Regions from separate parts of the Homo sapiens genome. Here all the other regions are linked to region 2. Evidence: promoter capture Hi-C in 16 types of primary human blood cells and fetal thymus (Javierre and others, 2016). All regions are on one chromosome and are shown on one strand. The core of a region is centred on a gene start or on the middle of the fragment in contact, and the rest is flanking DNA. Distances in the headings are between cores, read along the strand shown.

The links. The method cuts DNA at HindIII sites, captures the fragments that hold promoters and counts their contacts. A CHiCAGO score of 5 or more calls a contact.
Region 1: a fragment that was not itself captured here is called in contact with the fragment with the promoter of EML4 in region 2 in 1 of 17 cell types (fetal thymus); the score reaches 5.7 in fetal thymus.
Region 3: a contact is called between a fragment that was not itself captured here and the fragment with the promoter of EML4 in region 2, in 4 of 17 cell types (naive CD8 T cells, naive CD4 T cells, non-activated CD4 T cells and 1 more). The highest score is 8.9, in naive CD8 T cells.

Annotation. Positions count from the first base shown.
Region 1 is chr2:42,695,528-42,698,933 of GRCh38, forward strand. It overlaps MTA3 (metastasis associated 1 family member 3), which reads left to right. Exons shown (of 17, transcript NM_001330442.2): 10 at 238-312; 11 at 2,249-2,307. Among named protein-coding and RNA genes, the nearest start is that of OXER1, 67 kb to the right of the region's middle. The HindIII fragment of the contact is 1,315 bases long and covers 811-2,125 here.
Region 2 is chr2:42,167,515-42,171,061 of GRCh38, forward strand. It overlaps EML4 (EMAP like 4), which reads left to right and starts at 1,839. Exons shown (of 23, transcript NM_019063.5): 1 at 1,839-2,122. The coding sequence starts at 2,098. It overlaps EML4-AS1 (EML4 antisense RNA 1), which reads right to left and starts at 2,717. Exons shown (of 4, transcript NR_110584.1): 1 at 2,456-2,717. RefSeq lists enhancers at 1,421-1,560, 1,573-2,225 and silencers at 1,641-1,690, 1,791-1,850. The HindIII fragment of the contact is 2,496 bases long and covers 1,384-3,547 here.
Region 3 is chr2:42,811,361-42,814,948 of GRCh38, forward strand. No RefSeq gene overlaps it. Among named protein-coding and RNA genes, the nearest start is that of TRI-TAT2-1, 2.6 kb to the left of the region's middle. RefSeq lists enhancers at 1-9, 40-119. The HindIII fragment of the contact is 2,540 bases long and covers 92-2,631 here.

The DNA of each region.
Region 1 (3,406 bases), core at 218-2,717, 530 kb after region 2:
TGGGAGGCTAGGCAGAAGAATTGCCTGAACCCAGGAAGCGGAGGTTGCTGTGAGCTGACATCGCGCCACTGCACTTCAGCCTGGGCAACAAAGTGACAGTCTATCTCAAAAAAAAAAAAAAAAAAAAAAAAAAAGAAAGTGGTGGTTTTTAAGGAAAGTACTTTCTATAGTAGCTTATTTTCATCTCATTTTATTATATGTTAACATAGATGATAGGTTGATTTTTTTTTTTTTCAGCTTCCTTGGAAATCATTGACTAGCATCATTGAATATTATTACATGTGGAAAACTACTGACAGATATGTGCAACAGGTAATTTTTTTCATATTGCTACCAATATGGTTGCATTTAAGTGAACTTTCTGTTTATATTTTAATATTTTTTGGCGATGTACTACTTTTAAATTTGTTTACCTTACTTTTTCCAGACTACTTTAAACTACATGATTTCATATCTTTAGGATATTATTTAAGATTTTAATCTTAATATTTCCTTGACTTCGCATGAATTATGATAAATATTTTGGAGAGATACCACTAGAGAGGCATTATTTTCCTTGCATTTGACTGATCCTTCATCTCTTTGTAGTTCATGGCAATGATCAAAGATGTGATGCTAACACAAACCTCTTGAACAAGTTATTTTTATGAAGAATTGAGTATTTAGACCAATGTCATCAGCCATATAATTTGATATGTTTTTAAAGATCTTCTGAAACCTCTTTACATGACATTTGTGTGGCTATACCCCCGAAATCCTTGACCTTAAATGTAGTAGTCTTACTAGTATGGTGTTTTTGTACTGTACATAAGCTTTTTCTTAAATGTAATTTTTGAGTCCTTCTCAAATATCCTAAATTCAGGTAACTCTCAATTACTTATTTTTTGAATAATATTACCTCTGGGGAAAGGCACATTTTCCTGAAATGACATCGGTCAATACTTGTGTTATGTTTGTATAGGCACATATTAGAACTGATAAAAAGGCAAATATATTTAACACAGACATTATTTTTCCTATATATGTAGGTTATACAGTGGCAAGTATTAGATGCTATAAAAAAATTTTATGAATCACTTTTTAAAGTATCATAGTGAGCTGGGTATGGTGGTGTGCACCTATATTCCCAGCATTTTGGGAGGCCGAGGCAGGAGGATTGCTCAGCCCAGGAGTTCATGTCCAGCCTGGGCAACATAACAAGACCCTGTCTCTAAAAATAAATAAAAATTGAAAACAAAAAGTACCATGGTGAATTGCTGAGGTCACAAATAGTGAATAGATACTCATGGCTTGTTGAAAAATTTCCAGTGTCAATATTAATATAATTCAAAAAGTGCTTATTATAAACAACTTAGGTATAGATCAAGACCATGTAGTCTGGGAACCTATTTTATTAAAAAAGAGTCTCTAAAGATGGAGATGATGGTATCAAGGATGGTTGAAAAGTAGATAATATTCTTTCCAAAAACTTCAACCCTGTTCTAAAAGTTTCAAGTTGTCCCCCTAAGTATTTCTGTTTTCTCCTCATTGGGAAAATAGAAGATAGCCTTATATTCTGGTTTGTCTTATTTTTGGACATCAACCATATGTTATTTTACTTCTCTATTTGCCTGCATTATCATGTTGGTCAGTGTCTGGATTTGATTATATAATCTCCTTCCCCTTCCTTTCCCTACATATGGCTCCTAATTGGTTCCAGTAGAATATTATGTGAATTCAGCTGAGGTTTAAAGTTTAATGCATATCTCCCAACATTTGAGAATAAATGCTTATTTAGTTCTACTTAGAATAGCCACAGTCACTCCTCTTGCCTGGATTTTGGAAATAAATAATCTCTGAATATTTTTCTAAAAGCAGAGAGAGAGAGAGAGAGTGAGAGTGTGTGTGTTTTCTTCTAGAGAGGCAAATAAGTAATAAAGTAGAAACTAAATTTGGAAAGTAAAAATGGTTACTTTTTAAAGGTCCTGTTTATTCAGTCATAGAGGAATGGAAAATGGAGTTGCTCATTGCTTTATTTTTTTAAACCTATGCCTAAAATTGTATTAATACTTAAAGTTGTGTACCACAGAATCTAGTGACTTTTCTTAGACATTATTGCAGTTTAAGAATATGCATATGAAAGAAAAGCTTAAGATGGTAATTTTTGAATTACACTTTAATACGTATTTTCTTGTGAATTTTTAAGACAATGAACAGTAGTAATAATTAGGCATTGCATGTAAAATGTTTTATTCATCTTTTGAATTAGAAACGTCTAAAAGCAGCAGAAGCTGAGAGTAAACTGAAACAAGTATATATCCCAACCTAGTAAGTAATTGAAATCTTTTAAAATATTTGTTTTGGTCTTAATTTTATCATTGCAGAATATGTCATTTTGTTCAGTTTCAGCAAAATTTGAACTTTTGTGTATCTTTCTTCTTCTACAAAGCATGAGACTTACTATTATACCACTACAATAAAAAGGAGCCAGTGAGAGAAACCTCAAATAGACTAACCTGAAGACTAGAGGAAGAAATGTACTATGTACTATACTTTTATTAAATCAAAGCTGCAGGGAAAGCGTCAGAAAACCTATGAAATGCTGTATTATTTGAAGCAAATGTGTTTCAGAAAGCTAGCAGCTTTTCAAACTATAGATTTTGTTTGGGTAATGCATACTGCTCTTTGGAGGTTTGTTGTTTATTTGGTTGAGGATTTTACATTGTTTTCTTGGTTCCAATGGCAATTAGAACCATATTTGGTAAATGTGTGATAAATAATGGAGAGGTTTTGATTATTTTGTTTGTCTAGTGTTCTATCATTATTATCCTTTGAATTCAGAAATCATTGTCATCTCAAAATGAATGCCAATTTTTTTTTTTTTTCCATTTGCTTTGTTTTAAATGAGGCTGAGCATGGTAGTTCACGCCTATAATCCCAGCACTTTGGGGAACCTCGTTTCTGCAAAAAATTTAAAAGAAATATAAGGTACTATATCCTTTTGTTGAGATTTTCAGAGTTTGCTTATTCATTTGTTCAGGAAGAATTGGTTTATTAAGCACCACGTGTATATTGTTCTATCCTAGTTTCTTTTAGGATTAAAATGAAATTTATTGCAGAGTTCTGTGTGCTGCTCTAAGCCTTTTCTCCCTCTTCAACCTATTTACAGTTGTTTAATAACTAGCCTTTTGTTTCTGGAATTTTGATATTTTGTATAATACATGTTTTTATATACATAGAGGAGGCCTCATAGACAATGAGTTCTGATCTTTCATATTGATCTTTTACCACAAGACAGATAACTCTGGTTTAATTTTAAGAACATGTAATTTTTACAGAGTCTGTAATTTTTATTAAGAACTGTAATAGCCCATCTGCAGAGTGGTTTCTAATTCCTTCTAAATTATATGTTTTATATGATGAATTT
Region 2 (3,547 bases), core at 589-3,088:
ACATTTTAACAGCTTTCCTTGTAGTATACAGTATAATGAATGAGATGCTTATTGAATAAATCATTCAAGCAAATGAAAAATTTTAACTCTGATGAATGCCACGAAGGGGAGTGTGGCAGAAACCAGAGAGCTGTTACCAAAATATGTCTCTTTTCCTTCTGGATACACAGACTACATTCCTAGCCTCCCTTGCAGTCATGTGACCAAGTTCTGGCCAGTGGAATGTGGACAAAAGGGAGGTACACACTTCCAGGTCTGGACCATAAAACATATGTATACCAATATGCCAAGTTCTTATTCTTTTAATCGACCTAAGGCAGAGAGTGTGGCCTGAAGACACAAAGGAACAGCTGTCAGAATTGAGAACTTCTCAAACATTTACTTAGGCTTAATAGAAACTTATGCATATGAAAATGCCCATAGCAGAAGGAACATTGGGTAAATCATTTAAGTTTGAAGAGAAGGAAATTTTAGACACCGTTTAGTCTGTAACCTGAATTTATCTTGGCTGCGTTATGGCCAGTCTCCATATAGTATGGTATTCAGAAACAGGTCTTATATCCAAATAAGAAATGCAAAGTAATTTACATTTTTAGGGAAGATTTTTAAAGAGGCAACAAAGGGAGACGTATACCCCAAGAAGGTTTAACAATCCTTTCAATCATTTAATTCCTCTAAGTCTCTCTCATCATTACATATTTCTTGTCTCCCTTCTTGTTTGTCCCTCTCTCCTGCAACTCTGTGTAGTAGGACTCTGTTTTCCCCTAACTCAGCTTTTTATTATGTATTTATCAATTTATTATGTATAGATCAATTCAGTTCTTCAGTACCTTACAGCTCTTCTCTCTCTTACTCTAATCTGCACAACTGAGCCCCAGGAGGGACTTGACAAACCATGAGAAAGTCTTTAGAAGTATGGGAAATCGTGTTGGGGAAGGGAGGAAGAATATGAACGCTATGTATATTTACATGTTTTGGTTACATGTCCAGACAACCAATTTGCAAATGAATAAAGTGACGCCTAAATAAATTAGGTGATTTGACACTCTTGAGTCATACGGAGTTGGGCCTAGAACTCAGTGTTACTTCATTTGAAATAACCCTTATTATGGTTCCCTAGCAGGCCATCCTATAGCCTGCCATATATGGTCGTTTTGCACCCCTAGACGACAGAACGCTAGGGAGAGTAAGGAAGGCTGAGTTTTTGCTTCTACTAGGTTCGATGACCTTGGGCAGGTTGTCCTCTCTAAGGCTCTGTGTTTTTCTTCATAAGAAGGGTTAGACAAGATGAACTTTTGGGTCATGTCCAGCACTAAAATTCCTTGCTTCTGATCTGTCCCGGGCCCTGCGGCTGTGGCAGTGGTGGTATCGAGCTAGTCAAGAAGCTTCGCCCCTATTTGTCCCCCACCCTATTGGGGGAGAGGGAGAACCTCTCCCTCTTGGTTGCTTCTTTAGTGTCCTTGTAGGACCCACGTGGTGGTCATCTCCCGTCACGGGGGTCCAGTCTTGGCTCTGCGGGCTTCCCAGGGGCCACATAGGGAGAGGATCCTTCATGCATCAGAGTATCGCAGGCCAGAGTCTATGCCTTATCCCCACCTGTTTGGAACCAGCTTCCAAACCGTGGTCCCCAGCCTTCAGCAGGCCTACCGCGCAGGCGCAACCACCAGCCTGGCGCGAGGCGGACAAACGCCGAGGCCGAGGCAAGGTGAGAGGGCGGGGCTGGCAAGACCCCGCCTCCGTGGCGTCACGTGGGAGGCGGAGTCGGAAGTGTGACGGCGTGCGCGGGGCGGGGCTACTGCTGCGCGCGGGCGCGGGGGCGGGGCGGGGCGCGGCGCGGCGCGGCGCTCGCGGCTGCTGCCTGGGAGGGAGGCCGGGCAGGCGGCTGAGCGGCGCGGCTCTCAACGTGACGGGGAAGTGGTTCGGGCGGCCGCGGCTTACTACCCCAGGGCGAACGGACGGACGACGGAGGCGGGAGCCGGTAGCCGAGCCGGGCGACCTAGAGAACGAGCGGGTCAGGCTCAGCGTCGGCCACTCTGTCGGTCCGCTGAATGAAGTGCCCGCCCCTCTAAGCCCGGAGCCCGGCGCTTTCCCCGCAAGATGGACGGTTTCGCCGGCAGTCTCGGTGAGTACGGCTGGGGAGTCCTGCGTCTTCTGCGAAGGGTAGGAACTTTTTTCCTTCCGCACACAGCCCAGGCCCTGCCCTCCCGCCTGCCCCTCGGGGTGGCAGCGGCTCCACTGCACATGTTCCCTTCGAGGCTGCCGCCCCTCCGCGGACTCCGGTGGACTGAGGGCCCCTCCCCCATGTCCAACTCTCCTCTGTGTCAGACCCTCCTTTCCTCCCGGAGCCCCTTTCAGTGCGGGGCCCTCGTTCCCCCAAAGTGGGAACCCCTTCCTTCTCAGGCCCCCCGATAGCTGGCACACCCCTCCCCGTACACTCACGGCTCCCTCCACTTACCCCCCTTCAGAGTTGGGACATTTCTTCAAATCCAGGCTCCTCTTCAGGGTACAACCTTCCACCACCTTTCCACATACACGCCTCTCTTTCAGGGTGGGGATCGCCTTCACCCGAACAGAGGCTCCTTTTTAGGGGAGGGACCCTCATTCCCTCTTCAGGAAGGGGGCATCCCCCGCCCCCAAGTCTTCACTTTAGATTTGAAGGCGACTTTCCAGTATCCTTCAGAGTAGTAGGCAACTTCCTTTTCAATCCCTCCACTTCTCTGAGCATTTTGCAGTGGTGGAGAGACCTAGAAGCATCGGAGCATCATTTGCTTAATGCAGGAAAGGAAGAGGTGCATCTGTGTTGGGGGACCCTCTTTAAGAGTGAAAGCAGAAGTGTTTTCTGGTTCTGCATACATGCTGGGGAGAAGTGATTCTGCCCAATGAATCAATAGGAAAGGGGGCCTCTATCAGGGAAGGAAAGGATTCTCCATTTTTGGAAGATGTTGTCTTTGTGGAATGGAGAAAGGGAAGAGGTTATTAAATAGGCTGAAGTGCCTTTTCAGTGTTCCTTTCACCAGATGAAGGTAATCTTCTGGCTAGGAAAATCAAAACTCCAGGCTAGTATTCGCTGCCCTAGAAGCTGAATCTGGAATTACTATTCTTCGAGGCCATTGAAATCTAGTAAAAGATTAAGTTCAACTGTTAGAATGGTGAGAGAAACAGTTTCAGCTTTGGCTGATAACGCAGTTGTGTGATACCTACTGCTGGAACTGTATTTTGAGTTTTTTATGTGCAGGTAGCTTGTATTCAGACGCCTTTCTTTTACATTTCTTGATAATAAGTCTCTACTTGGTTAATGTTCACTGATCAGTGAGCAGTCTGGCCATAGGCCGTACTATATCCAGATAATATCGAGATGAGATGGATTTTTAAAATCTAAAGTAAAAAAGTAAGTCAAAGAGCAATGGGCCTATTATAGATATTAAATAGTAAAACCTATAATTTTGGCCTTCCCTTTTTCTTGGGCAGAAAAAATTGTCGTTATATTGCTTTCAGAGTGGAAATCCTAAAATAGGAGGCAACTGAGTGTTGTGTTACTCTTTCCTCC
Region 3 (3,588 bases), core at 112-2,611, 640 kb after region 2:
GTCCTCCCGGGGGCCGGGAAATCAGGCCAAGTGGTCGCCGGCGGATGCGCCCTGCCCCACATCGCCAGGGGGGGTAGGCAAAGCGGGCACAAGCTTAGTTAAGGGATGGAAAGCCTCCTGGACGTGTTCTTTCAAAGGGGAGATTTTCAGCTGTTTTCATGGACGGGATCGTTGCTAGATTTTGGGTGGAAATATTACCCCGCGAGTGGTGAAAATCAAGACCTAGAACGTTCAGAGAAATGGATGGAGGGCGGAGCTCTTGTCTATCTCCTGCGCTAGCCCAGGCTTCGGTTGCTCTCACCCATCCAGCCCCTCGATGCAGAACAGGAACCCTATGCCAACTGGAATGTGGGAAGGGCCGCCCACTTCCCCTCGTCCTGGTGCCGGGTTCCTCGCCAGCCCCGGGGAGGTCGCCTCTGGCTCACAGACATCCTCAGAGGCATGGGATAGGTCCCCTGTAGAAATGCAGCCCAGGCTTAGAAACAAATAAAATCTCTATCCATTAAAAAAGAATAATAATAATAATAAAAAAATAGGCGCGGTGGCTCACGCCTGTAATCCCGGCTTGGGAGGCTAAGGTCGGCGGATTTTTTTTTTTTTTTAATCACCCAGGAGTTTAAGACCAGCCTGGCCATCAGGGCGAAACCCCGTATCTACTAAAAATACAAAAATTAGCCGGGTGTGGTGGCGCATACCTGTAATCCCAGCTACTCGGGAGGCTGAGGTGAGAGGATCTCTTGGATTCGAGAGGCCGAGGTTGTAGTGAGCTGAGATGGCACCACTGCTCCAGCCTGGGCCAGACCTGTCTAAAAAAACAAAACAAAACAAAACAAAACAAAAAAAACTTGCGGCTGAGCGTGGTGGCTCACGCCTGTAATCCCAGCACTTTGGGAGGCCAAGGCGGGCGGATCACGAGGTCAGGAGACCATCCTGGCTAGCACTGTGAAACCCCGCCTCTACTAAAAATACAAAAAATTAGCCGGCTGTGGTGGCGTGCGCCTGTAATCCCAGCTACTCGGGAGGCTGAGGCAGGAGAATTGCTTGAACCTGGGAGGCGGAAATTGCAGTGAGCCGAGATCGCGCCACTGCACTCCAGCCTGGGCGACACAGCGAGACTCCGTCTCAAAAAAAAAAAAAAAAAAAAAAAAAAAGTATGCTTACTTTCTATAAAAAAAAAAACAAAAAACCCAACAGCTTTAATGGGATATAATTCCTATACCATACAACTCGCCCATTTTACAGTGTACAATGGATTTTAGTATATTCACAGATAAGTACAATCATCACCACAGTAAATTTTCAAACATTTTCATCACCTCAAGACTAGTTCTCACCCTCTCATCTTCCCATCCTGTTCCCCCACCAGCCCTAAGCAACCACAAATCCACTTTTTGTCTCTGTAGATTTCCCTAGTCTGGACTTTCCTACGAATGGAATTATACAGCATGTGGTCTTTTGTAATTGGCTTTTTCACTTTATAATGTTTTCAATATTCATCCATATTGTACCATATATCAGTGCTTCATTTCTTTTTATGACTGTATGACAGTCCATTGTATGGATTCTTTCCATTTTTGAATAATGGAGAAAGGGTTGGCATTTTCAAAAGGAAATTTGCCAAAAACTGCTTTGTAAGAGGTGATTAATTTTAAAATGCACAAACAGAAAAGTGATCAGACTCAGAAAGTGCAGGTTTCTAATCTTCACAGGTAACTCACTGACCACCAGGAGTCTCTTAGGTACTTCTGAGAGCTGAGCTCAAAGCAAGATCCCAAACAGACAACAATAAATGAATGAGAGATCATTCTGTCAACCTCCTATCCACAGAGAAATCCTTTCCACAAAACCCTAGCTCCTATTTGAAAACTGCTAGCATCAGAATTTCAGTTCCTCTCAAGGCAACTTATTCCATTTTCCAACAACTCTTATGGTTAGAACATTCTTCAATATTGTTTCTGTCCCTACTGGTTACTGCTGGAATGGCAGTGGCTTTAGGAACTGTTTTCCTGATAAGATGGTAGGGTTGGAAGGAAGCTAAACTAGTTCTTCTTTCCTTAATTTAGAAATCTTCAGCTACGAAATTATTGATTAGGCCATAAACAACAAACATACTCTGAGCCTATTTGTGGCCCAGTGTCTTAAAGTGATGTTGATAGAATTTTTTAAGGTTGTGGTGGGTGATAAAAATCAAGTGAGGCAGGGCATGGTGGCTCACACCGTAATTCCAACACTTTGGGAGGCTGAGGCAGAAGGATTGTTTGAGCCCAGGAGTTCCAGACCAGCCTGGGCAACATGGTGAAACCCTGTCTCTACAAAAAATACAAAAATTAACCCAGTGTGATGAGGCACGCCTGTAGTCTCAGCTACTTGGGAGGCTGAGGTGGGAGGCTCACCTGAGCCCAAGAGGTCGAGGCAGCAGTGAGCTGAGATTGCACCACTGCACTCCAGCCTGAGTGACTCTGTCTCAATTAAAAAAAAAAAAATCAAGTCAGAATATGGGAAAATGCTTTAAAAACCACAAAGTATTATGACATTTTTATTAGCATCAGACCACTGGCTTAGGCCTGACTATACTGTGTAGTGGCTTCAAGAAGGAAGTGGGTAAGTATGAAGTGACCAAACTGCGAAGGAAGCTTGAAGTGACAACTGAACAACCCCAGGCCCCAGCAGGAGAGAAACCTGATGTAACCCAGGCTGACCTTGGCTTTGTAGAATGCTTGGATGAAGAAGGGCTCATCAGAGCTAGGGGTGACACAGCCTGAAAGGAGTGCAGATTCAGTAGAATTTAGAAGAAGAGTGGAGCCAATCTGGAGGCAAATGTTTCTGACAAATGATAAGATGCAATTTTCATAGAGATAATTGTAAGTCTATGTTCAGTTCAAAGTTCCATGTGTGAGGATGCCTGGCTTGACAGCTGTTTGCATGTAAAAGATCTGGGGATTTCAGATGTGTGCAACCTCGGTTGTGCCAGCAGTGTGACCCAACTGCTAAGAATGTCAACTGATTATTAATGCATTACTATATAATGCATTAGATGCTGTGGTGTCAGGGATCACAAACCAGCCATCTATGGAACAAATCTAGCCTGCAGACAGATTTTGTTTGGCCTTCCAGCACTAACTTGCAAAGTGCTGACATTAAAAAAAAAAAATCATTTGCCTCCATATTGGGAGATTTCACAGAAATGCCGAGATTTTCAGTTTCTAATGAAAAGTCAGGACTGGGTGTGGTGCCTCACGCCTGTAATCCCAGCACTTTGGGAGGCTGAGGCGGGTGGATCACCTGAGGTCAGGAGTTCAAGACCAGCCTGGCCAACATGGCGAAATCCCACCTCTACTAAAAATACAAAAATTCGCCATGCCTGTAGTCCCAGCTACTCGGGGGGCTGAGGCAGGAGAATCTCTTGAACCTGAGAGGCGGAGGTTGCAGTGAGCCAAGATCACACCACTGTATTCCAGCCTGGGAGACAGAGTGAGACCTTGTCTAAAAAAAAAAAAGCCGGGCCATCTGGGGCCCTTATTCCTATATGGCAAGACTGACTGCCCATCTTGGATGTGTATGTGGCTTTCGGTTTGCCACGGTCCCTGT